6 separate regions of the Homo sapiens genome follow, and regions 1, 2, 3, 4 and 5 are each linked to region 6. Evidence: promoter capture Hi-C in 16 types of primary human blood cells and fetal thymus (Javierre and others, 2016). All regions are on one chromosome and are shown on one strand. Each heading gives the region's core, a stretch centred on a gene start or on the middle of the fragment in contact. The rest is flanking DNA. Distances are from core to core; before and after follow the strand shown.

Region 1 (4,668 bases), core at 961-3,460, 380 kb after region 6:
CCACTCCAGACCACACTCCCATCTCCATACATAGGATAGAAACTGTTCATCAGGAAGGAAAACCAAACAGAAATTCGTGGTCTAGGGGAGGGGTCTGCATTCAGCATGGCCATGCTGGGCTGGAGTGGCTGTGGGGTGTCCAGATAGATGGGCATGTAGACTAGTGCTTTCTCAACCTTTAATGCATGCACAAATCATCGAGATCTTGTTAAAATGTAGATCCTGGGTGGGCACGGTGGCTCACGCCTGTAATCCCAGCACTTTGGGAGGCTGAGGCGGGCGGATCATGAGGTCAGGAGATCGAGACCATCCTGGCTAACACGGTGAAACCCTGTCTCTACTAAAAATACAAAAAATTAGCCAGGCATGGTGGTGGGTGCCTGTAGTCCCAGCTACTCGGGAGGCTGAGGCAGGAGAATGGCATGAACCCGGGAGGCGGAGCTTGCAGTGAGCCGAGATCGTGCTGCTGCACTCCAGCCTGGGCAATAGAGTGAGATTCCGTCTCAAAAAAAAAAAAAAAAAAAATGTAGATCCTGGCTCAGGAGGTCTGGGATAGGACCTGGGATTCTGAGTTTCTAACAAGCTCCCAGGGATGTCCATGCTTCTGGTCCCTGAACCACACTTTGAGTGACAAGGATGTAAACTGTTGGAAACATGGATCTGGTGCTCATTGCGGGAAAGGGGGTGTCCTCAGGGCATAGGTCACAGCCAAAGCCCTGACAGCGGGCAAGAGTCCCAGGGAGAGGCTGCCTGCACATTGAGGAGGGGAAGGGCTGGGCCTGAGCAGTGGGGAGCATCCATGCTGGCAGGTATGCAGCAGGCAAGGAGATCCAGGTGGAGATCAGAGGACAGTGACAGTCACAGCAGCAGGGGAGAGCCAGGAGAAAGCTGCTCCTAGGGGTGTCTCAAAGGAAGAAGGGATCTGCAGTGTGAACTCTGCAGAGGGCAGGGAGAATAGAGGTTAAGCCTTTGCTCATTCTGAATTAATTGATTACTGCTTTTTAAAAGTGCTTTCTTTCTCTGGGAAAAAAAAAACATTCCCCAGTGCCTAAGGCTAACAGACGTGGGCGCTGAGCTGTGTCTGGTCTGCTGAGTGTATTTTCCCCAGAGCAATCCTCATCTTCTCAGGGGGTGGGGATTTGGACAAGACTCTTCCTGAACACGCAGCGTGGTGGGGAAGGGTGGCCATGGAGGTTTTCTGTTCCTTCTGTTGTCACTGGTGAAAGACGACTTGGTGCCCAATTTCTAATAAACACAATGCTATTAGCGTCACTCCAATTTAGTGTCTGATTGTTAAATGTTAATGTACTGCACTCTACAGTTTTAAATATAATTAGAGATGTTTACAGCTTTGGTTAAATGCACCTTGTTCTTCCACATTAAACTTTATTACAAGCGTCCTCCATCAACAACGAGGAGAAAGCTCATTAGTAGGTGGTCTGTATGGGGTTCTGGGCTGTGCTGAAGGAATCAGCCTTCTGTTTTCCTTTATGACAGCTTTCTACATGCTGGGGGCGGCCAGGGTGATTACTTCCTGTTTATGTGTACACTTAGTACCTCAGACTCCTGGGTCTGTGGATGGATCTCAGGGAAGCCAACAACACCCAGGAATTTTTATGCAGACGTTTGTGTTGTGTGTGTGAGGGTCTGATGTTCTCTTCAGTTTTCTAAAAGGGGTCTGTGGTCCACAAAAGATGGAGACTTTAGAGAGGGTCCTAAGCCAGTGTCCTGGCCACAATGGACCCAGAGAACATCATGAGGAAGCTGGGCAAACTAAGGAGATGGAAAGGTACCTGCCAGCCTGGCGACCTCCCAGGCATTCTAACCCTAAAACTGCCCCTTGCACTGAGCTCTGGCTCCAGGAAGCCTCTCTGCTCCCACCCTCACTCCTGCTGGCTGGAAGAACCCTGACCTCTTGCAGGGCTGATCTTTGGCTCAGCTAAGGATTGGGGCTCCCAATCCTCCCCTTTGTGGGGTCTCCTCCATCTCTTTTCTCCCTCAGCCCATGTGTGGGTTCCCAGGTTCTCACAGTACCCCAGTTCTGAGTGCCCTGTGACTGCACCCCAGCCCATTTCATAGTCAGTTTGGAATTCCTTAAAATGTTGTAACTGAAATCAGGTTCTCCTGCTCACTGCTTGGAAGCCAAACTTGAGAGACAAGATTTAGTGGAAGGAAAAGCAGGCTTATTCAAGAGCTGGCAGCCTGAGGAGATGGCAGACTAGTGTTGCAGAGACCATCTCAAGTCAGTACAAATTCTAGGCTCTTTTTATGTTAAAGACATGACCAACAACTGCTAACATCTGGGCACCAGCGAGGGTCCAGGAAGTTGGAAACTCCTTTGTCCTTGGTCAGATCACAAAGCTCCTATAAACCTTCAACGAAACATAGTTGTTTACATACTTCTCCTTTAATCCCAGAGTCAGTTTCAAAAACTACATGATTGCTGTTTTTGCATTTTATCTCAGTGCCCTAAAATTATCCTAGCCTACGTGCAGGAATGGATAAGGGCTCCCTTAATTGAAAATGGAGTTAGTTGTGTTAGTTCTTTTGCTCTTTCATTCTTACAATGTCTTGTTCCTGCTTCCTCATTCTTCCACCTCATCAGGATTCATTTCTAGTTTCCTTGGGGTTCTCCTTTACCATGTAACCCCTCATCTTTTTTGCACATTCAACTTCTCCTTCTATCTCCAAAATGACAAGTGTTTCTCAACCTGCACAGACCCCTCCCAAGCCACTATTCTCCTCTGGTTCCTTCTCTCTGCAGCCTGGAGTCTACACTGCCTGCTCCCTGCTGTCTGTCTCTCACCCTCTGCTGGCTGCCTTTGCTCCCCCTCCCCTGAACTCAGCTCTGCCCAAGCCCTCTGGGGTTCGCTGCTGAGCATGTGTTCTCTTGCAGAGAATGTCTTATTTTCAACCACTGTTCAGCTGTATCCCGAGGACCCCACCTCCACAGCCCCCGTGGAGCCCTCTCCTGAGCTCCATGTCCACCCACGAGCTCCCCCCTTGCAGCTCCCTCATGACTCCTGGAAGTATACACCCAATACTGAATGCATCAGAGCACCCTGCATCTCTTGATACCCAGCCATCCTGGTTAGGGCTCCACCGCTCACCCCATGGCTAAAGCTGCAAATCTAGCATTGGAGATATGGGCCACCGGCAGCAGCAGTGGAATCACTGCTGACTTATTGAAAATACCAGGTGCCTGGCACTGTGGTAAGTATGTTTTCTGTCTTATCTCATTAAGCCAGTGCTACTCTATGCCAATTTGCAGATGAAGAAGCAGAAGACCTCAGCTAGCTGGCCCAGGATGGCAGAGCTGGAGCCCTCCTCTCTCCTGTCCATCTCCCCTGCATGCCGGCACCTCCCCCATTGTCTTCATTCACATAGCTCCTGCTTCCCATCAGCTCTGATCACCTCTCTCATGGACCACCACTCTGACTCCTGACCTGTTCCCTGCCATTTAACCCACCCTCCGACATGCAGACTGGCCGAGTTACCCCTGCCCAACATCCTGCCCCGACTGCCCTCAGGATGCCCAGCACCTCGAGGAGTAGCAAGGCCCTTCATACCTGGCTCCCGCCTACCTTTCTGCAGTTTCCCCTCTGTGCTGTTGACCCAGGCCTCGGTGGCTGTGAGCTGCCACCTTGGAAGCCCAGCCCAGCGTGGTGTGGAGCTTCACGGTTGCAAGAGCAGGCCTGTGCTGGGCATGAGCGTGTCCCATGGCAGTGGCAGCATTGGCCATGATCAGAGCCCGTGGTGCGCTGCAAGCAGGCCTTGGGACTGGTGAGATCCCCACAGGCAGCCAGCCACCCAGCCCTGTCTTCAGCAGCATCTGGAACCGGAAGAGCAGGAAGCCCAGGTGGGGTCCCATGCTCTCCCAACCCCAATCACCACTGACATGGCTGCTGGCTGTGATGGCAGCCCCTGTGGCAGCACAGAGCTGGCAAGTTCAATGGGAAGTGCCTCAGCCCTCAGGAGGCAAGCAGCAGGTGAGCATAATAAGGACTGACCCCAGGGATACCTGGGAAGATGCCTTCTGGGTGTTCTTTGGCACGTTAATGGAAGGACAATCAAAGAAAGGCCCTGGCCGGGGAGTGGGACTCAGGAGGCCCTCGCTGTGCAGTGGCAGATTTTATCTCCACCCCCAGGTAGCAGTGCAGGCCTTCCCAGGTGCCAGAAGATGGTGACTTGGTTTCCAGGAACATGACCTCTCTATAGGATGTCCTCACTAAAAGAGATACTAGAGGTTGTCTACTTAAACTCCCCTTTCGTTCCCCACCATTTATACAAAAGACCACGATTTAAAGGAGAGTTTAGGTAACAGAGATGCAGGGTGGGCATCAGGATCTGGACTCAGGCTTTCTCTGCCCCTTCCATAGCTCCTCATGCCCTGGCTCTTGTCTGTGGCCTCCCTGCCCAACCCTGGAGGACAGCTGAGGCCCAGCCTTCTCCAGCAGGGCTGGATGGGAGGATTCATTGGAAGGTGGCAGCTGGGCACCTCCCGCTGAAAGAAGCACAGTCAGCCATTCTGGGAGTGGGAACTGTCTCCTAGATAAGCTTAGCTCGCTCAAGGGACATTTCAGAGGTCAACGTCAGTTCCGTAAATCTTTGCTGAGCTCCTACTATGTCAGACACTGAATTCACATGGTATTCATGTGTTCACATAGA
Region 2 (4,663 bases), core at 1,756-4,255, 280 kb after region 6:
GATGTGTCCTCATTGTTTACCAAGGGTGAAAGCTATGAGAGGAAGATCTTGAGAGAGAACCAGGGTGGGAACTCAGTTGACAGAGGGTAAAGATGATGAGTCTGGGGACGGAAACAAGATGGCATCAACAGGACCATACAAGAAGAAGTGGAAGTTGAAGAGAATGAAGGAAAGATGAAGTTCAATAAGGCAGATAGAGGTGGGAAGAGAGAAGTGGCAGGTGTTAAGAATAACATGTAATGCTTTGACCTGAAATGTGACATCACAATGGGGTCCTGGAAGGGGGATTGTGGGGGAAAACGAGGGTCATGTCAAAATGGTGGAGTCCTGACAGACCTTTCATGAGAATTTCTGTGGTGCTCAGTAATGGGTTAAATTGTGTCCTCTCAAAATTCGTATGTTGAGGGCTGGGCATGGTGGCTCACGCCTGTAATCCCAGCACTCTGGGAGGCCGAGGTGGGCGGATCACTTGAGGTCAGGAGTTTGAGACTAGCCTGGCCAACATGGCGAAACCCCATCTCTACTAAAAATACAAAAATTAGCTGGGCATGGTGGTGGGTGCCTGTAGTCCCAGCTACTTGGGAGGCTGAGGTGGGAGAATCACTTGAACCTGGGAGGCGGAGGTTGCAGTGAGCTGAGATCATGCCACTGCACTCCTGCCTGGGTGACAGAGCGAAACTCTGTCTCAAAAAATCATATGTTGAATCCTAATCCCTAGCACCTCAAAATGTGACTGTATTTGGAGTTAAGGCTTTTAAAGAGGTAAATTCATATGGGAGTGCCTAATCCAATATGACCAGAGTCTTTATAAGAAGAGGAGATTAGGACCCAGGCACACACAGAGAGAAGACTGCATGAAGACACAAGGAGAAGATGGCATCTGTGAGTGGAAAAAAGAAGCTCAGAAGAAACCAACCCAGTGACACCTTGATCTCCAACTGTGTCACAGAACTGTGAGACAATACGTTTTTTATAGTTTAAGCCACCTGGCCTGTGGATTACGGCAACCTGAAAAAATGAATATAGATTCTGAAGAGCAGGAGACAGAGACAGGAAGACAGCAGCCACAAAGGCTCAGGGAGGTCCACATTTCAGGTAGGGAGGCTTCCCAGGTGGGGTCCTTAGGGGCACAAGCACGTGGTGAGCACTCTGTCCACATTTGTTGATGTAAATGCTGGTAATAGCATAAATACATTTGGGAGCAAGCAACTCACTTTTGGTGAACACAGGGTGGTCTCTGGCCTGAGCACAGAGGGTGATGTGGGCACATGTCAGAAGGTTTTGCAGAAAGAGTCAGGCGTGTGGGGATGTGGTGCTACTTTCAGCCTCAAATGCTTCCCTCCCTGTGACCAGAAGGTCCCACAGAAAAATGAGCTGGGCACAGGGACAAAGAGGATGTGCTGAGCTTTAGAAAAGACAGAGTAAAGAGATTCATGAAAATGTCAGGTCTACAGCCCACAGCCTGGGTACCAGAAGCCAGAGCTCATGTGTGCATGTGTGTGCATACATTTGTGTGTGTGTGTGTGTGTGTGTGTGTGTGTGTGTGTGTGTTACCTGCTGCTCTGCACTGGGCCATGCTAACACCTAGCTCGGGCCAAGCACAAGGACCCTGTGAAGAGGCTCACAAATGACTCCTGACTCCTGAGGATTTATGTACCATCTGCTGCTGGACTTACTGCAGTCCCTCCAAGCACACCCTCAAGGACTACTGAGCTGGGGTGCCATCAGTCTTGGGAAAAGAGAGTGAGAATTCCCTAAAGCAATGTTTGGCAAACTTGACTACTATTCTTTTCAAAGGCCAAGAAACATTCCTATGGACCCTGCCTTGACTTCAGTTATTGCTGTGGAAATAAAGCAGCACAAACACAAACAGCTAAGCTTATAGTTGCTTTACAAGTGCAAAACAAAAACCAAATGTGTAAATTAAACACAATTGCAAACAGCAATAAAACTCAAACTAACAACATTAGTTTAATGTGACTATGGGTGTTTGTGAAACCGATTTGCCTCTTCTGTGAATATGGAACTGAATGCCATTCAGATTCTCCTGATGGGTGATGGGCTCTCATGCCAAGGGCTGGGAAGTGAGTCAGAGCCTTACAGGAGTCGCATGCTGATAGAGCTTGATGCCTTTACCTCCACAGGAGTCAAACTGCCACGTGTGTCAGACCAGCTCATACTAGACTTTGGTTACAATCCATTGCTTCTCTAACACTTTTAGTCTAGACTTGCTCCAAGCTGGGAGTCTTTGTGTCTCTGTAGAGGACTTACAGAGGTCTTATTCCCTTATTTCTAAGTTATTAAGAATGCAGAATGGGAATTTTCCTGAAGCCTAAGTCTTCTGCTTGGATTCACAAAACATCAGAACTGCATTTACTGTAACATCTTTGACATGGGGAGGAAGCAATTTATAATTAATAGTACCTTACAATAGATGAAATAATGTAATATGTATGATACTGATCAATAATTACATGATGCCTATGAGCAGCATATATATAAAAACACTGAGATATCATAAAAGTAATAAACAAGTTTTAGTTTTAAGTTTTACTTCGAAAAAAATGAAAACTTACAGAAGTTGCAAGAATAGTACAATGAATTCCATATGCTCTTTATCTAGATCTACTGACTTTCCCATTTGCCTCTCTCTCCCTGTGTCTCTCTCTCTTTCCATATATATATTATACAATACATATTATAGATAAACTTGTTATTTTTGCTGAACCATTTAAGAGTAATTTACAGTCATTCTATTAACACCAGATACTTCAGTGTGGATCGCCTAAGAACAAGTGTAAAGGCATTCTCTTTCATAATCATGCTCAGGAAATGTATGTAGTATACAATATAGTCCATTTGCCAGTCATACCAATAATGTCCTTTTTAGCATTTTTTTCCTGATCCCACATCAAGGATCTAGGATCATACGTTTCACTTAGTTGATAAGTCTTTTTAACCTCTTTTACTCTGAACAGTTCTTCAGTCTGTCTTTTGCTCACTGAATGTTCAATAAAAGTAGAAGGCATAGACTGAGATTTTTAGTCTTATACATCAGTGGTCAGTTCTAAGATGTTTTCTTTGTGGTCAGTTTTATAGACATCTGTTTGGTTCCTAGTCCCTCCCTCATTTCAATCACCTCCATCTGGAGCCTTCTAGGAATCTGGGGCCATGTCTTTCCGTTTCCTGGGAGCTGGTCCAGGTTGCTGCATCCAGCCGGCCTGCAGAGCCCTTGGCATCAGCTCACAATCACGTCCCTCTATTGGGGTCACCAATGAGGTTGGTTAGAAGCTATTTCTATCTAGACATCCTGTCAGGCCTATAGCTTCACATTTCTGTACATTTCGGGAAAAACAGTGTAGTCCATACTCCTTCCCCAGTTGTGCAGGGAGAAGACGGTGCTGAAGGTTTCATGTAAACTCTGCCCCAGGGGCCTTAGGCATATCTTTCTGATTGGATGGCTGCATTGTCTGTAACCACGATCTCTCCTCTTTCTTATCCTTTCCCTGCTCTCTCAGTCACAGCTGATAACTGCTTTTCTCTAGAGTGAACTCTCTTTTAGTGGCAATTCAAGCATGTAGCTGACTGCTTTTAGCTGTAAAATGCCTGTGAACAATAGGGAGGAGCAAATATTCAAAATTACTTTTAGAAACCTAGACTGAAAAAGTAACACTTGGAAATCTGCTAAACACCTTAGAAGAGGGGTGTTTCGTTTTGCTTGATGGTCTTAGTTTAGGGATATATTTGCTGTGTGCAAGGTCCATTACAAAACCATGCTGTACTCTTCCATCTCTGACCCAGGTTCTAACAAACAATTGGATAATGAAAGAGGAAAAGCCCCGGCCTGCCAGGTGATAGCAGAATGCACTTGTTGGAGAAAATCTGGATTTCTAAGATTCTTTCAGTGGCAACTGGTAGAATACAGGATTAGTTGAGTAGGCTCTCCATATAGCTTAGTGTCCACAGGAATCTGGATCAACTTTAGAATGGTTTGAACACCCTCTTCTTATGAGGTAAACAAAAAATAGAATTGGATTGTATTATTCTTCCAATTCAGTACAAAGTAAGACCTGATAGAGCCAAGGTATGGACAAAGAAGCCTGTGAAGGATTTTCAAATGGTCCTAAGCTTGTGAATGAGTGAGCAGGCAGCAGAGCTAAGAAAACCATTTGGAAGGCCTTTGCCAATGTAGTCCAGAAGAGCTGAAAGGCCAAGTCTTATCCGGGTCACTGGCTCTGTCTCCCATGAGGGCTGAGTATATTCCCTTGTTCCTGTGTTCATGCAGCAAAGGTTTTACCAGGATGATCAGTTAGATTATATGGGAAGCTGAAAAGTACCAGCAGTGCACACAGCTGTAAAATCAGCACAATGTTACCTGTAGCAGAAAAGTACAAGAAAAGCACTTTCTAGCCTCAAATCTTTGGCACAACCCCAGTTTGGTAAAGACGAAGCAAGTCAAGGGTGGCAGGCTGAATTTCTGCTCTGTTTTGCAATGAGAGTTGGATATTTAGCAATATACAACGACCAAAGCAGGAGTTGCCTCCTCCAAGGGTGGCTGACACATCTAAGGGGTCCCTTCTGCTTTTCACCAACTGGGAGAGTAAATTGAGACCAGCAGGTTGAGGTGGGAGGTTACCAAGGATACCAAATGGCCCTGCCACAT
Region 3 (4,463 bases), core at 1,142-3,641, 360 kb after region 6:
CCTCGTCATCAACCATGCCCTCCTCCACAATGGGTCACCCACACCTCATCTGCAAGTCCTCCTTCTCCATAATGAAGCCCTAGGGTAGCTGAGGGGGTCAGGCCACCCCTGTTCTCTAGGGAGAAAATGATCTCTGTGAGCCAGCCCCAGACGAAAGACATAGAAAACCAGGAGCACCACAGGCTTAATCACTGCACGTTTCCCAGGGAAGCGCTTGCATCCTGTCTTCTCACTCCAATCCATCCTCTGCGTGGCTACCGGGGGATTTTTCTAAAACACAGCTTCATCTGTGTCATTTCCCTGCGTAAATGGCTCCCTCTCGCCTCCAGGATGAGGCGGCTTCCTGTGAGTAGCGGCTGGCTCTTGTCATAATCTGCCTGCGCTCCCTCAGGCCCACCCCACCCAGGACCCTCATCCTGCTGAGACCCCAATTGGTCTAGGTCCTCTGTCCTCACCTACGCCTGCCTCATCCTCCCGCAGAGCTGCTGCTCAGCTCTAAGATGTGGCTCACTCACCACCTTCTTTTTGAGGCCTCCTCCCCTCTGCCCCCCACTTCTCTGGAATCTAGGTTGGCCTAGGCATCTGAGTAAGTTGTGCCTGTTCACGTCAGTGACCTGCTTGTAGACAGCTCTTGGGGCACTTTTCGGTTCCTCTGTCCTGGATGCCCCCTCATGGTCCGCCCACCTTTGTACTTGCAGGTGGTCCTGAGAGGCCTGGGCCCTCTGGTTGACTGCTTTTACCCCTGGCTGTTGCTCCTCCACAGGTGGTCAGGCTGCCTCCCCCTCCTCCACTGTCCTAGAATGTTGGCTTCTCTTGGGCTGTCTTCTCCTTGACATTCACAGGCACAGCAGCCATCTGTGCAGCCCATTGGTCCCCTAACGGGGGTCCTCAAGCCAATTTCAGAACAACCCTTCTGACTGTTGACCAGACACTCCCCTGGAGGGCCCACAGGCACCTCAAATCCGCCATGACATAAGCACACACGGAGCTCATGGCCTGCCCCACACCTCAGTGTGCATGGGATATCCCGCCTTAGCCCATGGCATTCCCATCCAGAAGCTAAATCGTGGTAAAATACACATAACAGCAAACGTACTATCTTCATCATTTTTAAGTGTACAATTCAGTCATGTGAAACACTCCCACTGTGGTGTGGTCAATCTCCAATGCTCTTTTCATCTTGCAAAACTGAAACTCTGTACTCAAGAAACACCCCCCACTCCCACCCAGCCAGCCCCTAGCTTCCACCATTCTACTTTCTGTCTCAATGAATTTGACTGCTTTAGCAACCTCATAGAAGTGGAATCATGCAGTATTTGTCCTTTTGTGACTGGCTTATTTTGCTTAGCATAATGTCCTTATTCATCCACGTTGCTGTGTGTGTGAGAATTTTCATTCTTCTTAAGGCCTAATAATATTCTATTGTAAGTATATACCACATTTTTTGTATCCATTTATCCCTTGCTGGACAACGGAGTTGCTTCCATCTTTTGGCTGTTGTGACTAATGCTGACGTGACCATGGTGTACAAATATCTGTTTGAGTTCTTGCTTTTAATTATTTTGGTTATATACCCAGAAGGGGGATTGCTGGATCAGATGGTAATGGCATTTTTAGTTTTTTGAGAAACTGCTACACTGTTTTCCAAATCAGCTGCACCATTTTACATTCCTACAAAGAGCACACAGGGTTTCAATTTCTTCATATCCTCACCAACACTTGTTGGTTTCCTTTTTTTTTTCTTTGATAGTAGCTATCCTAATGGGTGTGAGGTGGTATCTCATTGTGGTTTTGATTTGCATTTCCCTAATGAGTGATGTTGAGCATCTTTTTATGTTCTTGTCAGCCATTTGTCTATCTTTGGAGAAATGGCTATTCAAGTCCATTGACCATTTTTAAAAAAAGAGATTGTTTGATTTTTTGTTGTTGCTGAATTGTAGGAGTTCTTTATATATTGTGAATTTTAATTCCACATCAGTTACATAATTTGCCAAAATTTTCACCTGTCCTGTAGTGACTTTTTCATTCTGTTAATTGTGTCCCTTGATTCCCAGAAGCTTTAAATTTACATGGGAACTGGTTTTAAAGTCAGGGAGAACTGGTCTTACCCCTAATGATATCCTCAGCAGGGAACCTGGAGTCACTAGAGCGCCCCTTTGGCCAATGTATATGGAGTGAATGATGAATAATGTTTGCGTGGGAGGATCTGTGGTTGGAACTTAGTCTGAGTCCTCCCTGCTCCAATTGTGGGCCAGAAGGCCAGGCACTGCCTGGGAGCTTGTTGGAAAAGTAGAATCTCCGGCCCTGACTCAGACCTACTGAAGTGGAACCTGCAATTAACGAGGTCCCAGATGAATATGATAAACAGTAAAGTTTGAGAAGTGTGGCTCTGACTAACTTTTCAGACTAAGTAGGCACCTCTGGTGGGGTCGACGCTATCAGGATCCAGAGCCGCTGCCACCCACCTCCAGAGAGGACTCTGCTTTCACTTTAGTAAGACAGGTCAGCCCCCTGGGGAGAAAGGGAGTTGTTTTATCTGTCAACAAGGAGAAAACTAAATATGAGAATTCTAAAAGTCCTTGTGACTCTCCCTAATTCCTGCAAACCTTTCCAGAACAGCTCATCCGTATGTCAACCAGGTATATGTAGCCTTGCCCCATGATCTCCTAGTGTAGCACTTGGCCAGGTGACCAAGACTTACTTGCCTGTGATTCCCTCAAGCTTACAGTCCACAGTAAGCCTCCCTCTTCTCACAGAAACCCAAAGATTAGAATGCTCAAAATGGACAGAAAGGAAGTAGTTCATTCATCCTTGTTCAGAGGGACCCTGCCGTAGGAACCTGCCTCCTCCATAGCGCTGTTGAAAACCATAGTGTGGCCAGCCCAGGGCTGAGATGCCCTGCCTTGTTCCACATCTGCTGGGTGTTGGGAAGAAGTTTCTTCCCCCGGCCCTAGTTTTCACCATTGAGAATGTACTGCCAGGGCCAAAAAAGAATCTGTCTCTTATCAGTAGCAGAAAAGGACTTTGAAGCACATTAGAAAGCAGTGATAGAATTCTGAGAGGATTTTAATAATAACCCAAATCCCAGCAAAATTATTTCCAGAGGACATGCATTTCAGGTTTCTTGAAGGATGTTTATAATAAGCCAGAGAATTTCTCTTGTTGTCGTTAATGTGCTAGAACTGGTTTCAGTTAAATTTTACATGAAAAGGATATATTAACCTGCATAAAATATGTTCATAATCTCGATTTAAAATTAAAAAGAAGAAAAAAAGCCACAACCACATGTACAATATATTGCCCCAAGTAAAAGCCTTGGGAAAAAAATACAAACTTTGCTTGTACCACGCTAGTACCATTTTTGCAGAGATAAAATTTCTATGCTCCCCTAGGTACACATGCACAGCCCATTATTGTTGCGGGGAGTTATGTATGTCAGCTGGAGGGAAGAACGGATGCTGAGGCTTCAGAAGGGATGGGCGTGCGGAAAACAGAAGCCATTTGCTTTCATGGCTTCCTCCAGTCTAGAGAGAGCAGGTATCTCGGCGTTCGGTAAGCTGGATGTGATCAAGATCATATCTCTCCCACACTGGAAGTGAGAATATCCTGTATCAGGAAGTCTGTTAACCTTGACACAGGGCTGTCTTTTCCCTGCAGGCCACACAGTTAGTGCCAAGGCCCCTCTACTGCCTGCCCCTGCCAACACTTGCCTAGCAAGAACCAGGTCACGTGCTTCTCAGCTGTGTCAGAGACCAATAGAAATTCACTGGGGCTCCAATTTTGTTGAAGGTGGGCTAAGTGACACAGTTACTTTCAAGGAGTCTTTATTTATTTATTATTTTTTTTGATATAGAGTCTTGCTCTATTGCCCAGGCTGGAGTGCAATGGCAACCGTAGCTCACTATAGCCTCAAACTCCTGGGCTCAACTGATCCTCCTGCCTCAGCCTCCCAAGTAGCTGGTACCACAGGCATGTGCCACCACATCTAACTTTTTTTTTTTTTTTTTTTTTTGTGGAGCTGGGATCTCGCTATGTGCCCAGGCTGGTCTCAAACTCCTGGCCTCAAGCAATCCTCTCACTTTGGCCTCCCAAAGTGCTAGGATTACAGGTGTGAGCCACTGCACCTGGCCTCAAGAAATGTTTTAAAACTGGGGAGCTCCTTAAGCTCTCCTTAGGCCTCCCTTTTGGGAGACAAAGGGAATCCTACTGCAGATTGCTACCAACAGAGTTGTCCCCACTTTGTTCTAGAAGGGTAATGTGGCTTTGTGCTTTGAGAAGGAACTTGACTTTGGAATTGGCCCCCTCAGGACTATGTGCTTCTCCTGTTTAATGCATCACTGATTCATTCACATTGCTTTCCCAGTCTTCTATTTATTCATTCCCCAATAATTGTTGAGCGCTGATAGGCAGGGGGCAAGGTGCCAGAGAGGTGGGAGCATGAGCCTGGGAGTCACCTGACCAAG
Region 4 (4,075 bases), core at 524-3,023, 330 kb after region 6:
GTAAGATAATATGTGTGTACAAATTTAAATTAATAATTTTTTAATTTCCTCATTTCATAAGTGTCTGTTAAAATATTTTTTAGATTGACTTATTAGTATTGCACAATTAGTAAACTTTGGAAAATTAGCATAAGATTAATCAAGATGACATAAACATATCATAAATTTAGATACATAATAGCCATAAAAAGCAAAATTTATTGGGAATGCATTTTTATTGAAATTGATTTTTATTTTTACTTCATATACCCTGGTATGAATTTTTTAGGGATAAAATTTATCATCAATTTTGTTAATAGATATTAGCTCTGAAATACTTCAATATAAACAGAGTATGAATGAATGAATGAAATTTTCTTATACTCCTCAATTTTTAGAACTACTTCCAAGGTATATGTCAAAAGTCACATCATGATTTATCATCCAAAATGATTTTTAATACTCTACCAGATGACAATTGGATTAGGTCATTATTCAATCCTTGTTGAAAGCAAAGTATTAGAAACATCCCCCCCTTGTGAAAGATTTAGTTGCCTAGTTAATAATTTGCTTTATTGACACAGATATTAGTATTTTACATTAATTCTTGTTTGATGTCTCATTTACGTTTCAATCTGGGACAGGTCTCCAGGATGGTGTGCTTTGATTTTATGAATAGAAAAGGGTGATGTTAAAAGTGGGGAAGGGAAATGAATACGGCCAGACCTCAGGCATGTTCTAAGAGAATGCATTCTTAGGAAAGAATACCATGGGAGGTGAGGATGTTAAGGTGATTCCTTAAAACTGTTTTGCCAAAGAGTACCCAGGGGTATCCAGACCCTAGACTGAAGACCACTGATCCATCTAATAAGCTTAGAATAGTGCCAGGGACACATGAAATGTTCGATAAATACTAACTATGGTTGTTATTATTGTTGCATCTATAGATTATCTAGTATACAGTAGATGCTCGGTAAATGGAATACAGAAAGAGTTTAGGTATTAATAGGAGGCTGAACGAGATAAACCTGTACAGTTCCATTTGAAGCTGAGATTCTCTCATCTTACTTTGGAAGCTGCGTAACAGATCACCCCATATGTAACAGCTTAAAGCAACTATTATCTGCTCTCAATTCCACAGGTTGCCAGTTTGGGCTGGGCTTAGCTGACCATTTCTTCTGCTGGTCTCAGCTGGAGTCATTCATGCAGCTGCAGTCTCTTGATGCATTACCTGGGACCTGGTTGTTCGGGGCCTTGGCTGGGACAGCTGGTGTCTGCTCCGTGTAGTCTCATCTTCCAGTAGGCTAGCCAGGCTTCCTCATGTGGTGACAGAAAAATTCCCTGCAACAAGAGAGGGCAAACCCCATAGCACAGGTGTCTTTTACACCTCTGCTTGTGACACATTGGCTAATGTTCTCTTGACCAAAGCAAGTTCATATGGCCAAGCCCAGAGTCAGTTTGGGAGGGGGTACACATGGGTGTGGACACATACAAGGAGGTGTGATTCACTGAGTCCACTGATGTAACAATCTACCACACAATTCAAGGGTCCCCCTGGTTGTTTCAGCTTTACCTCTATTTGAAGTAAATTCAGCTGTGAACCTCAGAGTGGACACTTGCTGGATTATGTGCCTAGGTATTCTTACTTTTCCTCTGCAGCCAGAATCATTTGGTTTTCCTGTAGGAGGAGGTTTTGGTCCAAGACTCTTTTCCCGAGGGCCTCTTTTTAGTCCTGGAAGAGCATTAATCAGAGAATTCAAACTCATTTTTCAATGAGGAGCTTCTAAATGGACACGTTATTCCATCTGGCCTCAAGAGGGCTTTCTTATGACTCAGGCAGAGCTTAGAGGTTGAGTGACTCTATTACTCCAGGATCCCAACTTAACCTGCCTTGGCCCAAAATGAATACCCAGGAAGTCTGGGGTGTATGGCTTAATGCCTGGCTAGATCCCTGGCTGGGACATATCCAGTCACTGTTGTGTTCATGTGATGGCTCTGCTGTGCTCTTCCAAACAGAAGAATGCAAGTCTTGAGAGTTGGGTGGTATAGCACCAATACCTGAACAACACCTGGCTCCCGGCATTTCCTTGTAATTCCTGGAGCATATATATCTGAAGTAGCATTGGTTTACCATCTTCTATTATTTTTCCTTTCACAGTGAGACATTATTTGGTGAAATGCCCTCAGAACAGGTAAGAATATTTTCTTCCTTTTTTCAGATGAAACTCTTTGCCATTTAACTTTCTTTTGATATTACCAATAAATTGATTAAATTTGTAGTTTTACCTAAAAGTCTGCATATTTGTCCACAAATATGCCTGCAAATGTGTATCCTGCATGCATTTGCATGTTTCCAAGGTCTACAGTCTGGTTTTCACCCCCAGGGATCCAGAGAGCATGCAGCTTTTGCTGGCCCAGCAGGCTTGCTGGAGGAGGCTTGGTGTATGGTCCTGCAGAGCTGCTCCCCAGTTTAGGAAGGGGCTCACACTTGCTCTGAACCACTTTGATACATTTTGACCACAAACACCCCCAATTCTCTTCACCAATGCTGACTTACTGTATGCCCTGCTTTTAGCTGGTGAGGCACACTTTATAGGTAACATAATAGTTATAAGAGATAGTGCTAATTCAAAGCGTTTAAAAATTTGGGACTTCTGATCCAGACAAGATGGCATAGGTCAATTTCTTCCTTCTCTTTCCTGCTGAGTAAAGCTTTAAACCTTGGAAATAACATAAGAGACAACCAAATGAAGACTTTGAAAGGTGGTGAAAAGAAGGTAAACTGGTTTGGAATCCCAGGACTGGAGGAGTAACACAACTGCTAGACATCTTATGTTTTCCCATCCAACAGCAGAAGGTCACCCAGACTTGCTTTTTTCCTACTCCAATCTAGCAACAGAAAACATTCAGGTAAGCTCATTCCTCCCCTGGATCAAAGGGGAGTTCCCCTGAAAACCTCAAGTGAGCCCAGCATCAGCTGCAAAGAGGATGGATCAGGGGCTCCTCCCACAATGAGCACCAGAGGAAGAGCTCACTTTTTCTTCCAGGCTAAGACTCCCTTCCTCAACCAGGTGACACCAAGCCTTCAGGGAAGAGCCAGCAAGAGGCACCTAGACACAAAAGTGGCCCAGCAAGGAAGCTTCTTCATCTCCATGGGTGTGAGGCTTCTCTCCCCTACTGAAAAACATCCAGCTTCCAAATCTGAGGAAACTCTCTCTGTCCCCTCTGGCAGCACCAGCAGGGCCCAGTGGCACCATATAAACCAAACAGACCAAAATAATACTGTAAAGTCTCTGAAAATGAAAATGCCATTGGAACTATAGCCCATAGAAGCAGACCAAGATTACATGATAAACCTGGGTGACTGCCTACAAAAATAAGAGATTTATATAGGACCTGGGACCTTCTGACAAGCTACTATAAAAAAACCACCCATCATTTTAAAAACCACAAAAATCACAACTTGAATGAGAAGAGATAATAGATCAGATCAACACTGGGATGAATCAGGTGTTGAAATTATCTGACAAAAATTTTGAAGCAGTTTTTTTCTTTCTATGAGATGGAGTTTCACTCTTGTTGCCCAGGCTGGAGTGCAATAGCATGATCTTGGCTCACTGCAACCCTCCTAGATTCAAATGATTCTCCTGCCTCAGCCTCTCAAGTAGCTGGGATTACAGGCACCCACCACCATGCCCAGCTATATTTTTGCATGTTTAGTAGAGACGGGATTTCACCATGTTGTCTAGGTTGGTCTCAAACTCGTGACCTCAGGTGATCCACCCACCTCATCCTCCAAAAATGCTGGGATTGCAGGCATGAGGCACCACCTGCAGGCTTAAAGCAGTTTTTATTAAAAAAAAAAAAAAGATTCAATCATCAATTCAAATTATCTTAAAACAGTTGACAAAATAAAAAAATCTCAGCCAATAAAGAAAAAAACAAACATATGGAAATTATAGAACTAAAAAGTACAAAAACAGAAATGAAAAACTCACTGTTCGGGCTCAATAGGAGAGTGGAGATGTCAGTGGATAGTTTGTGAAGTGGATGACAGAGCAATAGAATTTATCTAATCTGAACAACAGAGAGAAAA
Region 5 (4,615 bases), core at 1,548-4,047, 420 kb after region 6:
GTACCTGTGTTCATTATGGAGGGGTTGGTGATGGTGGTTACATGCCAGTGTCTATGGTTAGGTTATTCTGAGGCCGTTGTGGCTGTGATGGCAGCAGGTGTGAGGATAGTCTGCTTGCTGGGTGACTTTGGGCAAGTCACTGAACCTCTCTGTGCCTTCCTAGGCCTCCCTAGGCTGGGCAGACCTGGGAGGAGCTGCAGCCCTTGGGCTGAGGTGGAGAGAGGGGAGGTGAGGAGGGCAGGGCAAGGCCAGGACGGCCACATCCCTAGCAGGTCAGGTACCTCTTGGGCTTGGAGGCTGAGCCGGGGGCTCCTCTCCTGCTGGCCGTCCAGGAACAGACATCTTCACATCCTCAGTCTTCCAAACCTGCCCCAAAAGAGCAAATGTCATCGGCGGGGAAGACGATCCTGTCTGCAAGCTTGGAGTGGCCTAGTCCATTTCCTCACGCCTAGGGGTCCCCCAGGGAAAGGATGAACACATGGCCCCCCTTTCACTTCTGATGTTAACTTATCATCAGGTAAAAGGTTATTTAGCCTTCAGCTTCCTCATGCAGAGGTTTGGCCAATCACAGTTGCACCTTGAATGAATTTACCCCACCCATGTCCCTAAGTGCATCTCATGACCCCCACAGCCCTTTTCTTGCAGGGATGTGACTCTGCAACCAGTTTATTGCCATTTTGCTCAACCAATGCCCTCTTGCCCATAATGCTACCACCTCTAGAGTACTCCCTCACCCCTGGGTGGCTGGGCACCCCCATCTTGTGTCTGGCCCTTGGCGCTAAGCCTACTGTGGGAGCCCTGAGGCCAACTCACTCAAAATGGCTTCTCATTCACTGGGTCTGGATTTTATATCACCAAAGGGCAAGGACCAGCCTCCTCTCAAATGCTTCTGTGAGCCCCACGCCAGGCTTAGCACAGCACTGGGCCAGTCCAGGAGCTCAGTGACCACATCGAATGAATGAGTGCTGAGTGCACAGAAGACCCTCACTTACGCTTTGGGGGGGCCCAGGAGAGTAATATACTCTGCAGCTCGGCCACCCCAGGCTCCTCTGGCTGGCCCACTGATGTGGGCCACACCCCACCAAGCCCAGGCCATCCCAGGATGCCCTGCTTTCTGCAGAGGCCACAGATAAAGTCCTATGAGGGGACTGCCTAGGTACCTCAGCCTGCATGGATGGATGGATGGATGGATACATGGAGGGATACATGGATGGATGGATGGATGGATGGATGGATGGATGGATGGATGAGTGGATGGGTGGATAGAGAGATGGATGGGTGGATGGATGGGTGGGTAGATGAGTAGAGAGATAAATGGGTAGGTGGGTAGATAAATTAGTGGATGGGTGGGCAAGTTTGGTTTGAATGGATGACGCAAATATCTCCTTTTAGCATTGGGATATAATCTTTTGCATTTAACCATTCAACTTTTATATGTTGTAACAGTATTTATTTTAGTGTGTGTCTGTGTGTGTGTGCATGTGTGTGTCTGTGTGTGTAATACTATATATATAATTTTATTTATTTACTTTTTCCCTGCAAAGAGCCTTGTCTTTTCCCTTCCTTTGCTGTAGGTACCCGTTCTGGAATGGTCTCAAATGCAACCTGCAGGTTTGGCCCCCTGGAGGAAGTGAGAAGAATGGAGATGAACACGTTTCTTGTGTCATGTCCTCATTCTGCCCAAGACACACCTACCCGGACCATGCCGTCTTGACTCCCGGTGATGATGATCTGGCTTGTGTCCCATGCTGGGCCCTCCATCAGGCAGCAGCAGGTTATGGCTCCTTCTGGGCCCCAGGCTGTGGTGATGCTGGCCAGGGGCTGTCCATTGACATTCCACAGGGACAAGTGTGCTCCCGCACAGGAGACAATGGTGCCCTGTGCAGTGAGAGCTGGCATCACTCTAAGCTGGAGTCACTGCCTGCCCATCAGCCACTTGCTCAGCTACCCAGTTGGTACACCCAAGTACTCTCAATCTGTCATGCTCTGAAGACCCCCAAGGTACCCCAAAACTTCTTTCCAGCTGACTTACAGGTCTGCTGTGTTTTCACACAGTTGTAAATTCTTGGTTCTTTTCATACTGCAGTCATGTGCTTAGATACTTCTTTCCTGGCAGAAGGCACCTGGCTCACCCTCAGGCTCCTCCCAGATCCCACTCCCCAACCACACCCTGACTGCCACAGAAGATCCAGCCTGAAGGGTAGCCCTGGCTTTGGACACACAGCTTACACCTGGTAGGTCAGCCCTGCCCCATAAAGAAGTTTTGGATGCCACCTGGTGGATGGCAGGGTACAGAAGTTCCAATGACTGCATGTGGCTCATAAGCTTGTGCAATGTCCCTGAAGAGGGAATTTCTAAGGAGAAATTTCCCCATTGTATCTCCTGATATGCTCACATTTGAGTCTTTCCTCCTCAAGTCCTGTTTATTCTATAGTGGCCACTGTCACCAAGGTCCTGGGGCCATCCCTTTGAGCCTTGCCCTAATCACAGAAGGGATGTAGGGTGCTCAGTGCCCCTCCACATCTCACTGGGCTGGGATCCATTAGAAGTTCCTGAATTGTTAGGGATGGTCTGTCTGAGGCCAGAGGCCATGTCTGATACCTCTCTGCCCCACAACCAGCAAGCACAGACTGAAATCAGTTGGCTGCAGGACAACTTGTCCTGGTGCCAGGCTTCTCTGGGGTCTAGGGACACAATTCCTGATGGGTTTTATATTCTCCCAGGTGAAGGCTTCAATGCCTTCTATACATCAACCCATCCATCCATTCACCCACCATCTACCAATCCATTATCCATTTCATCCATCTTTCCATCCACCTATTCATCCATTTATCTGCTCATTTATCCATCCATCCATCCATTCATTTATCTATCTACCCATCCACTCATCTATCCACCCGTCCATCCATCTATCCATTCATCCACCCATGCATCCACTCATCTACCCATCCATCCACCCATCCATTCACACTCCATCTACTCATCTAACATTGAATCCAGTTTTGAATTCAAGCCTACCTGGAGCACCACTTTCAGCAAAAATTGGAACCAGGAAGCTCCTATATCATCCCTCCTCTTTTGAGCCCTCTGCCCATTTTATTTATGCCCTGGGCCCCTTAGGTTTTCTGTGAGCAGATGCAGAAACCTCTGCATCCTCAGGGAACCCCATATCCCATGACAGGGCTTCAGTCTGGAAGAAATTTCACACCGGTAAGTCGATCTCCCTGGTCTTTGTTAGCCAGTATGGAAGGAGAGGCAGAGAAGCTTGCACTGCCATGAAGACCAAACCTGCCAAGTCAACACTGATTTGAAGGTAAAGACCTAAATGAGTCAGCCACATCCAACAAAACCCTCCCTAAAAGCCAATTTTTCAGCTGCAGCCCCCTGGTGCCCGCAGCAAAGCAGACACTTCCCACTGTCCCCAACACCAGAGGGAGGAAAGTAAAGAAGCGGACATTGAAGCTAGACCTGGGTGCTACAAGTGAGATCTACAGCGACTGTTCCACACAATTGGGGGCCCTCTCAGCATTCTGGGGTGGCTAGAGTCTCTGTGTCTCTGGGCTTTCTCCTGAGTGTTGTACCCCATGCTACTGCGAAGGTGAGGACACGGACACTGAGAAACAGGAGACTTACTGAGACGTCACTGATGGTGATGGCTGAGATGCCTTCCCGATGGGCGGGCAGGCGGGTCACGTGGGTGAGGTGGTCCAGATCCCACAGGATACAGGTGCAGTCCTGGGAGCCGCTCACCAGGAGGCTGAAGGTGACTGACGCTGCCAGGCACGTGACAGCCTGTGTGTGTCCATACAAGGCCTGGGGACAGAGACTCACAGGTTAGGAGAGGGACCCTCAATTCAGCTACTTTTGGGAATTCTTCACCCTCCCTATAAAGCTGGGTGCTGGATGAGGAAATGGAGATTCTGAGTGAGTCAGTGATTCCCAAGTCTGTTGTCTGTGCAGCTGGGGGTGTGTGCATGTGCGTGTCCATGACTAGCCTCTCCATTTCATTCATCTCCAGGGGTGGAGGCTCTGCTGGGGAGAAACCATTTTTTTACTTATAACCCAACCAGAGGCTAGCCACACCTGGATGTTTTGTGCTGCCCTACATCTATCTTGAACCCGGGAGCAGTTCATGTCATGAGTTGTTTTTTTTTTTTTTTTTTTTTTTTTTTGAGACGGAGTCTTGCTCTGTTGCCTAGGCTGGAGTGCAATGGCATGATCTCAGTTCACTGCAGCCTTTGCTTCCCAGGTACAGCAATTCTTTTGCATCAGCCTCCCAAGTAGCTGGGATTACAGGTGCCTGCCACCATGCCTGGCGAATGTTTTTTATTTTTAGTGGAGATGGGGTTTCACCAAGTTAGCCAGGCTGGTCTTGAACTCCTGACCTCAAGTGATCCACCTGCCTTGGCCTCCCAAAGTGCTGGGTTTACAGGTGTGAGCCATCACACCTGGCCAGTTCATGTTACGATTAACATACAAAGCACTGTTGGCAAACTGTGGTGCCCACACCAGCAGGCTCAGTAGCAGCAAGTAGCCTCTTAGAATGCAAATTCTTGGGTTCCACTCCAAATCTCCTGAATCAGAAACGCTGGGGATGGGGCCCTGAAGTCTGAAT
Region 6 (4,198 bases), core at 1,232-3,731:
CAACGGGAAGGAGCCCAGCCTAGCGGCTCCGGGAGAGGAGCGCCGGGCGAGGCGAGGCCGAGGGTCCCAAGCCGGCTTAGAGCCCCCGCGAGGTGGGTGTGTTGAGGGAGCTCGGCTGGTTATCTAGTCAGTGAGGCGGCCGGACTCTCCTCGGGGGCCGCGAGATGGTTTCCGGCTGCAGCGGCCGGGTAGGAGCGGCGCGTGGTACTGCGGAGAAGGGAGTTTTGTCTCTGTTGCCAGCGCTGAGCGCATGTCCGGAGTAACTTTCGCAGGTTTGGACTGGGAGAGGATTGGGGTCGGTCCCCGGACGCCTGGGGTCCGGCCGGGCGGATCCCACCCCTGAGCAGCGAGGGGCCCCGGCTGGGCCCCCGGTACGGCTTCTTTCTCCGCAGCAGCCGGGGGTGGGTGGGGGTGCGGAAACCGGCGCCGCTGTCCAGGGTTCTGACCTGCCGGGTTGCTCGGCGAGCGCGCCGTCCTCAGACCGCGCAGGTCTGAGCCTGTCTCATCCGCGCCGGATGAGCCTGTCTCGTCCCGGGGTCATCTCTGGGCCTTAATAGGAACTTGCCTCGGTCGATGTCAGGGATGGGGAACTGAGACTGGCGTTTGGACCTCATTGGTTTCTGGGGCCAACACTGCACCCCGGGCTGGGCTGCTGCCGCTGAGGGTTCCCGCACACACCCCCAGGTGCGCCTGAGCATCTTGGCCGAGGCGGCCCAGAAGCTGTCCGCACCTCACTTCACGGCCACCGGGTTCCCAAAGCGCACAGGCAGGGAACTGCTGCCTAGGGCAGGAGGGAACCCGAGGGGACTTTCGGCAGACCTAGGCGGCAAGAGGAGCCTCGGGCTCTTGTCAAGAGCTCCAGAGAGCAGGGGCCCTCTGAGGGAGACAGGGAGAGAGACAGCGCGCGCGAGCCAGTCTCTTGACCTGGGCTAAGGGAGGATCAGCTCTAGGGGCTCCCAGCCCTCTTGGCATGACGTAGGAAAGGCCCTCGGCTGCCCTGCCGGCCCCTGCCTGCCACCTCACCCGCCTTCGGGACCTGCTAGCCGCTCCTCCCGGGCCGGCTGCCTGGACTCTCGGAGTCGGTGGCCCTGGCGGAAATGGCGCCCCGAGCTCTCTCCGCTCTGAAACGAGCGGAAGTTTCCTGTGATTCTTTCCCCGAGGCAGAGCAGACTCTGCTCTGGAGCGACTGAGCCCAGGAAGGGCCGCTTCACTGGAATAGATCCTGACTTGCCTCGACCGGAGCGGGACTGGTCTTCCTCCCGGCTGTTTTCGGAGGGGCGTCAACGGCGGCCGGGACCCAGCGCTCTGTCCTGCAGCTCGATGCTCCTTGCCCAGCGCTGGTGTCCAGCGGCGGGCCTGCCAGGCCTTTTGTTTCCAAAGCGCTGCGTCTTTAAGATCAAGGCTGTATCCCGGGCCGTGCAGGGACCCGACCCACCACCTCGCCAAGGCTCCCTAACGCAGCATTAGAATGTTTATAAAATATTCAATTTATGTAGTCTGTCCAAGAAGCCATCGTCCCAAAATAAAATCAGCAGTCTAGACGGAGCACAGACACCAGAACTTATCAACAGTTGTCTGACTTGCATCTTCTGATGCATCTTGAGTGGGTCATAATACCAACTTTATTTTCAGTGGTGCATAAATTAATTACACGCATTTAATAACCAAAATATCATTATATTCCCCCTTTAATATCATAAAGGCTTTCCGCCAGGGAAGCACTTAATAGTGCAGGGGGCCGTAACGGGCTATTATCCTGGTGTAATGCTATTACAGAACCAATTATGCGCCATTAGACTTGCTTTTTTTGCAGTTTATGTGATTTGATCCAATCCCGCGCCCCTGACTTGAAAATTTCAGCCCGGTACTTTAGAGTTTAATTTTCACCCAGGCAGAGAGAAGGGCGGTCTCTCTCCGTTGAGTGTCTGCCTCGGATGCATTTTAAAAGTAATTGCAAAGGGTCCCACCGCATATCATTTGCATCGAGAAGCGAACATAAATTCAGGGACCCCTTGCTGAGAACAAAATCAAACTTTCCTTTTGTACGATCGTTTGGAAAGGGAAGCCGTGTGCAAAGAGTCCCCCCAAAACCCATCCGGCGGCGACAATTAGCAGCGCTTTGCCAATTTGCAGCCCGGGAGTCACCAGGCCTTTGATAAGGGCAGCCCAAACCAGGCTCTCTCGGAGAAAGGTTTGCCTCTGAGGGGACATGAGGTGGGGGGTGGGGCCTAGTGTGTTTTCGGAAAATGTATGTTTTTGGGGGTGATGGTGGTGGTGGTTGTATCGTTCTCTTTTAAAAGAGGAAAAAGCATTCCTGATGTTTGCTGAGAAATGACGGATTTTTTTTTTAACACCACGTGGGCCATTTGTAAGGCCCAATAGACCTATCCAAGTTACTCGCTGTAGACAGCGCTGGAAATAATCAGATTAAGGCCAATTATGCGTGAGATTATAAAGGCGAGTGCTGAGCGGCGGCGCGCGCTGCAGACAGACAGCAAGACATCTGGCCACTTCCCGAGTCACTTCTTTGGTCCTGCGGGCGCCAGCCGCGCCGAGCCCCGCCCGCCGCCAGCCGAGCAGGGCTTGCGGATCGGAGGCGGTCACGCTCCGACCTCCTCGACCGCCGCCCGCCGAGGTATGCTCGGCTCCTGACCCACTCGCCGGGCCCCGAGCGCCGGGCCTTGGGGCTCGGCTGCCTTCCTGGCCTGAGCTGCAGCTCGCAGATGGCCTTGCGCGCTAGCCGGACCTGGCTGCGGTGGCCCGGGTGCAGGGCTTCTGGCTGGGACCCCAGAGAGCCAGAAACTACGCTGCGGGGTTTGGTGCTGGGGCCAGGGTGAGGGCACGGCCGTCCGGGAGGTGGACACACCCGAAGGACTGCCCTGTGGGGTTGCTGCTTGCGACGGGGCTGCCGCCTTCCCTCCTGTCCCCCGCAGTGAGATGAGGGCGTTGGGAGGGACTTTCCAGGAGGGGAGCGCCGGGTGCGCCCTAGGGCTGGGCGGGAGCGCTGGCAGAGGGAGACTTGAAGCTCTATCGCTGTTTGCTTTGCAGCCAGGCAGGAGCAACGCGCGCGGGTCCGTTCTGCTGCCACCCTCCCAGGTCTCGGCCGTCCAGCCGATCTGACAGCCGGCGATGTTTTATTTCCACTGCCCGCCACAGCTAGAGGGTAAGTAAGCGCTGCGCCCCAGGGTCTCCATGAAGCCAGAGCCGGCCAGAAAGGGCCGGAGCGGCAGCAGGGCTGGTGGGTGGCTGGGTCCCCGCCCTGCGGGGGGCGCAGCCGCCTGCCGGTGAGTAGGGGCCTCCCTGGACCCCTCCCTACACCCCACTCCAGGCCCGCTCCAGCTCCCCGCCCCGTCGCCACCTGCCTCCCAGCTCCCTCCCCGCCTGGGCCAGGACGCCCCGGGCTAGGCGTGCCGCGGGGACCGGCCGAATCCTCCCAGCACAGATGCTGGTGTCACGCCTCTAATTGGGGCTCCGCAACCCAGGGGGCCGCATCAATCTTTCACGGTGCTTCTGCAAACATCCCAGAAAGCAAAGGCGAGTGGACCCGCCGCGTCCTGGCCCAGATCACGAGCTGCACGAGCCTACAAGGGCCCGTCGCTGGGCTGCTCTCACTGGGGCCGCTGGCGAGAACACTGCAGGGGCCTCTTCCGCCCTGGATTCTGGGCAGCTCAATTCCCTTCCCGGCCTCCTGGCCGTCCCTGGAACCAGGTGGCCCTGCCCACCACCTGCCCGGACTGACCTAGCATGGCTCCTTCTCTGTGACTCACTAACCCTAAATGTCGACCACTCCCCACTCCCCAGGCCAGAATTTCCATCTTTGAGTGTCTCCAGGCCTGAGAAGAAATTTCCCCTCAGGATCCCCAGTCTGGCTTCTGCACCCAGTTGTTAGTGGGGGCGTGGGTTGGTGAGAAGGGGACAGTTGGGACCTCAGCATGCCCCTGCTCAGGACCCGAGGGATCCAAGGATGGGGTCTTCACATCAGGGGGCCAATTAGTAGCCATCAGGTGAGCCAATGCCACACTGTGGGCTTTAATGGGGCCTTCTGCAGAGCAGCAGTCTCAGCACTGGGGTATTGGGACTTTTGTAACCGTCGGACTGGCATTTGGCAACCTACTCGTTTGATTTATTATTGTGGTGGGAGAATTTGGGAAGCCAAGTAGTTGTGGGAGACAAGGGGCAGGGTATATGTTGTGAGGCG

What was found. Contacts are between HindIII fragments. The CHiCAGO score rates a contact against its expected background, and 5 or more counts as called.
Region 1: a fragment that was not itself captured here is called in contact with the fragment with the promoter of DRGX in region 6 in 2 of 17 cell types (M0 macrophages and M1 macrophages); the score reaches 6.8 in M0 macrophages.
Region 2: a fragment that was not itself captured here is called in contact with the fragment with the promoter of DRGX in region 6 in 1 of 17 cell types (M2 macrophages); the score reaches 5.1 in M2 macrophages.
Region 3: a contact is called between a fragment that was not itself captured here and the fragment with the promoter of DRGX in region 6, in 1 of 17 cell types (M0 macrophages). The highest score is 5.1, in M0 macrophages.
Region 4: a contact is called between a fragment that was not itself captured here and the fragment with the promoter of DRGX in region 6, in 2 of 17 cell types (total B cells and M1 macrophages). The highest score is 6.2, in total B cells.
Region 5: a contact is called between a fragment that was not itself captured here and the fragment with the promoter of DRGX in region 6, in 4 of 17 cell types (M1 macrophages, M2 macrophages, megakaryocytes and 1 more). The highest score is 8.7, in M1 macrophages.

The regions. Positions count from the first base shown.
Region 1 is chr10:49,010,977-49,015,644 of GRCh38, reverse strand. It overlaps VSTM4 (V-set and transmembrane domain containing 4), which reads left to right. Exons shown (of 8, transcript NM_001031746.5): 8 at 1-1,409. Among named protein-coding and RNA genes, the nearest start is that of MIR4294, 28 kb to the right of the region's middle. RefSeq lists a silencer at 3,470-3,725. The HindIII fragment of the contact is 4,698 bases long and covers 1-4,559 here.
Region 2 is chr10:49,117,422-49,122,084 of GRCh38, reverse strand. It overlaps LOC124902545 (a long non-coding RNA gene), which reads left to right and starts at 624. Exons shown (of 2, transcript XR_007062371.1): 1 at 624-882; 2 at 977-1,969. FAM170B-AS1 (FAM170B antisense RNA 1) reads right to left here and starts at 246. Exons shown (of 6, transcript NR_038973.1): 1 at 1-246. The HindIII fragment of the contact is 2,250 bases long and covers 1,881-4,130 here.
Region 3 is chr10:49,035,219-49,039,681 of GRCh38, reverse strand. The region is part of intron 7 of VSTM4 (V-set and transmembrane domain containing 4); the gene reads left to right. Among named protein-coding and RNA genes, the nearest start is that of MIR4294, 52 kb to the right of the region's middle. The HindIII fragment of the contact is 664 bases long and covers 2,060-2,723 here.
Region 4 is chr10:49,062,799-49,066,873 of GRCh38, reverse strand. VSTM4 (V-set and transmembrane domain containing 4) reads left to right here. Exons shown (of 8, transcript NM_001031746.5): 5 at 2,138-2,171. Among named protein-coding and RNA genes, the nearest start is that of VSTM4, 51 kb to the left of the region's middle. The HindIII fragment of the contact is 1,840 bases long and covers 854-2,693 here.
Region 5 is chr10:48,974,060-48,978,674 of GRCh38, reverse strand. It overlaps WDFY4 (WDFY family member 4), which reads right to left. Exons shown (of 62, transcript NM_001394531.1): 58 at 3,634-3,813; 59 at 1,696-1,878; 60 at 282-366. LOC105378298 (a long non-coding RNA gene) reads left to right here. Exons shown (of 4, transcript XR_007062370.1): 4 at 1,575-1,696. Among named protein-coding and RNA genes, the nearest start is that of MIR4294, 9.2 kb to the left of the region's middle. The HindIII fragment of the contact is 939 bases long and covers 2,328-3,266 here.
Region 6 is chr10:49,394,372-49,398,569 of GRCh38, reverse strand. It overlaps DRGX (dorsal root ganglia homeobox), which reads left to right and starts at 2,481. Exons shown (of 7, transcript NM_001276451.2): 1 at 2,481-2,635; 2 at 3,049-3,163. The coding sequence starts at 3,130. RefSeq lists a silencer at 307-466. The HindIII fragment of the contact is 25,200 bases long and covers 1-4,198 here.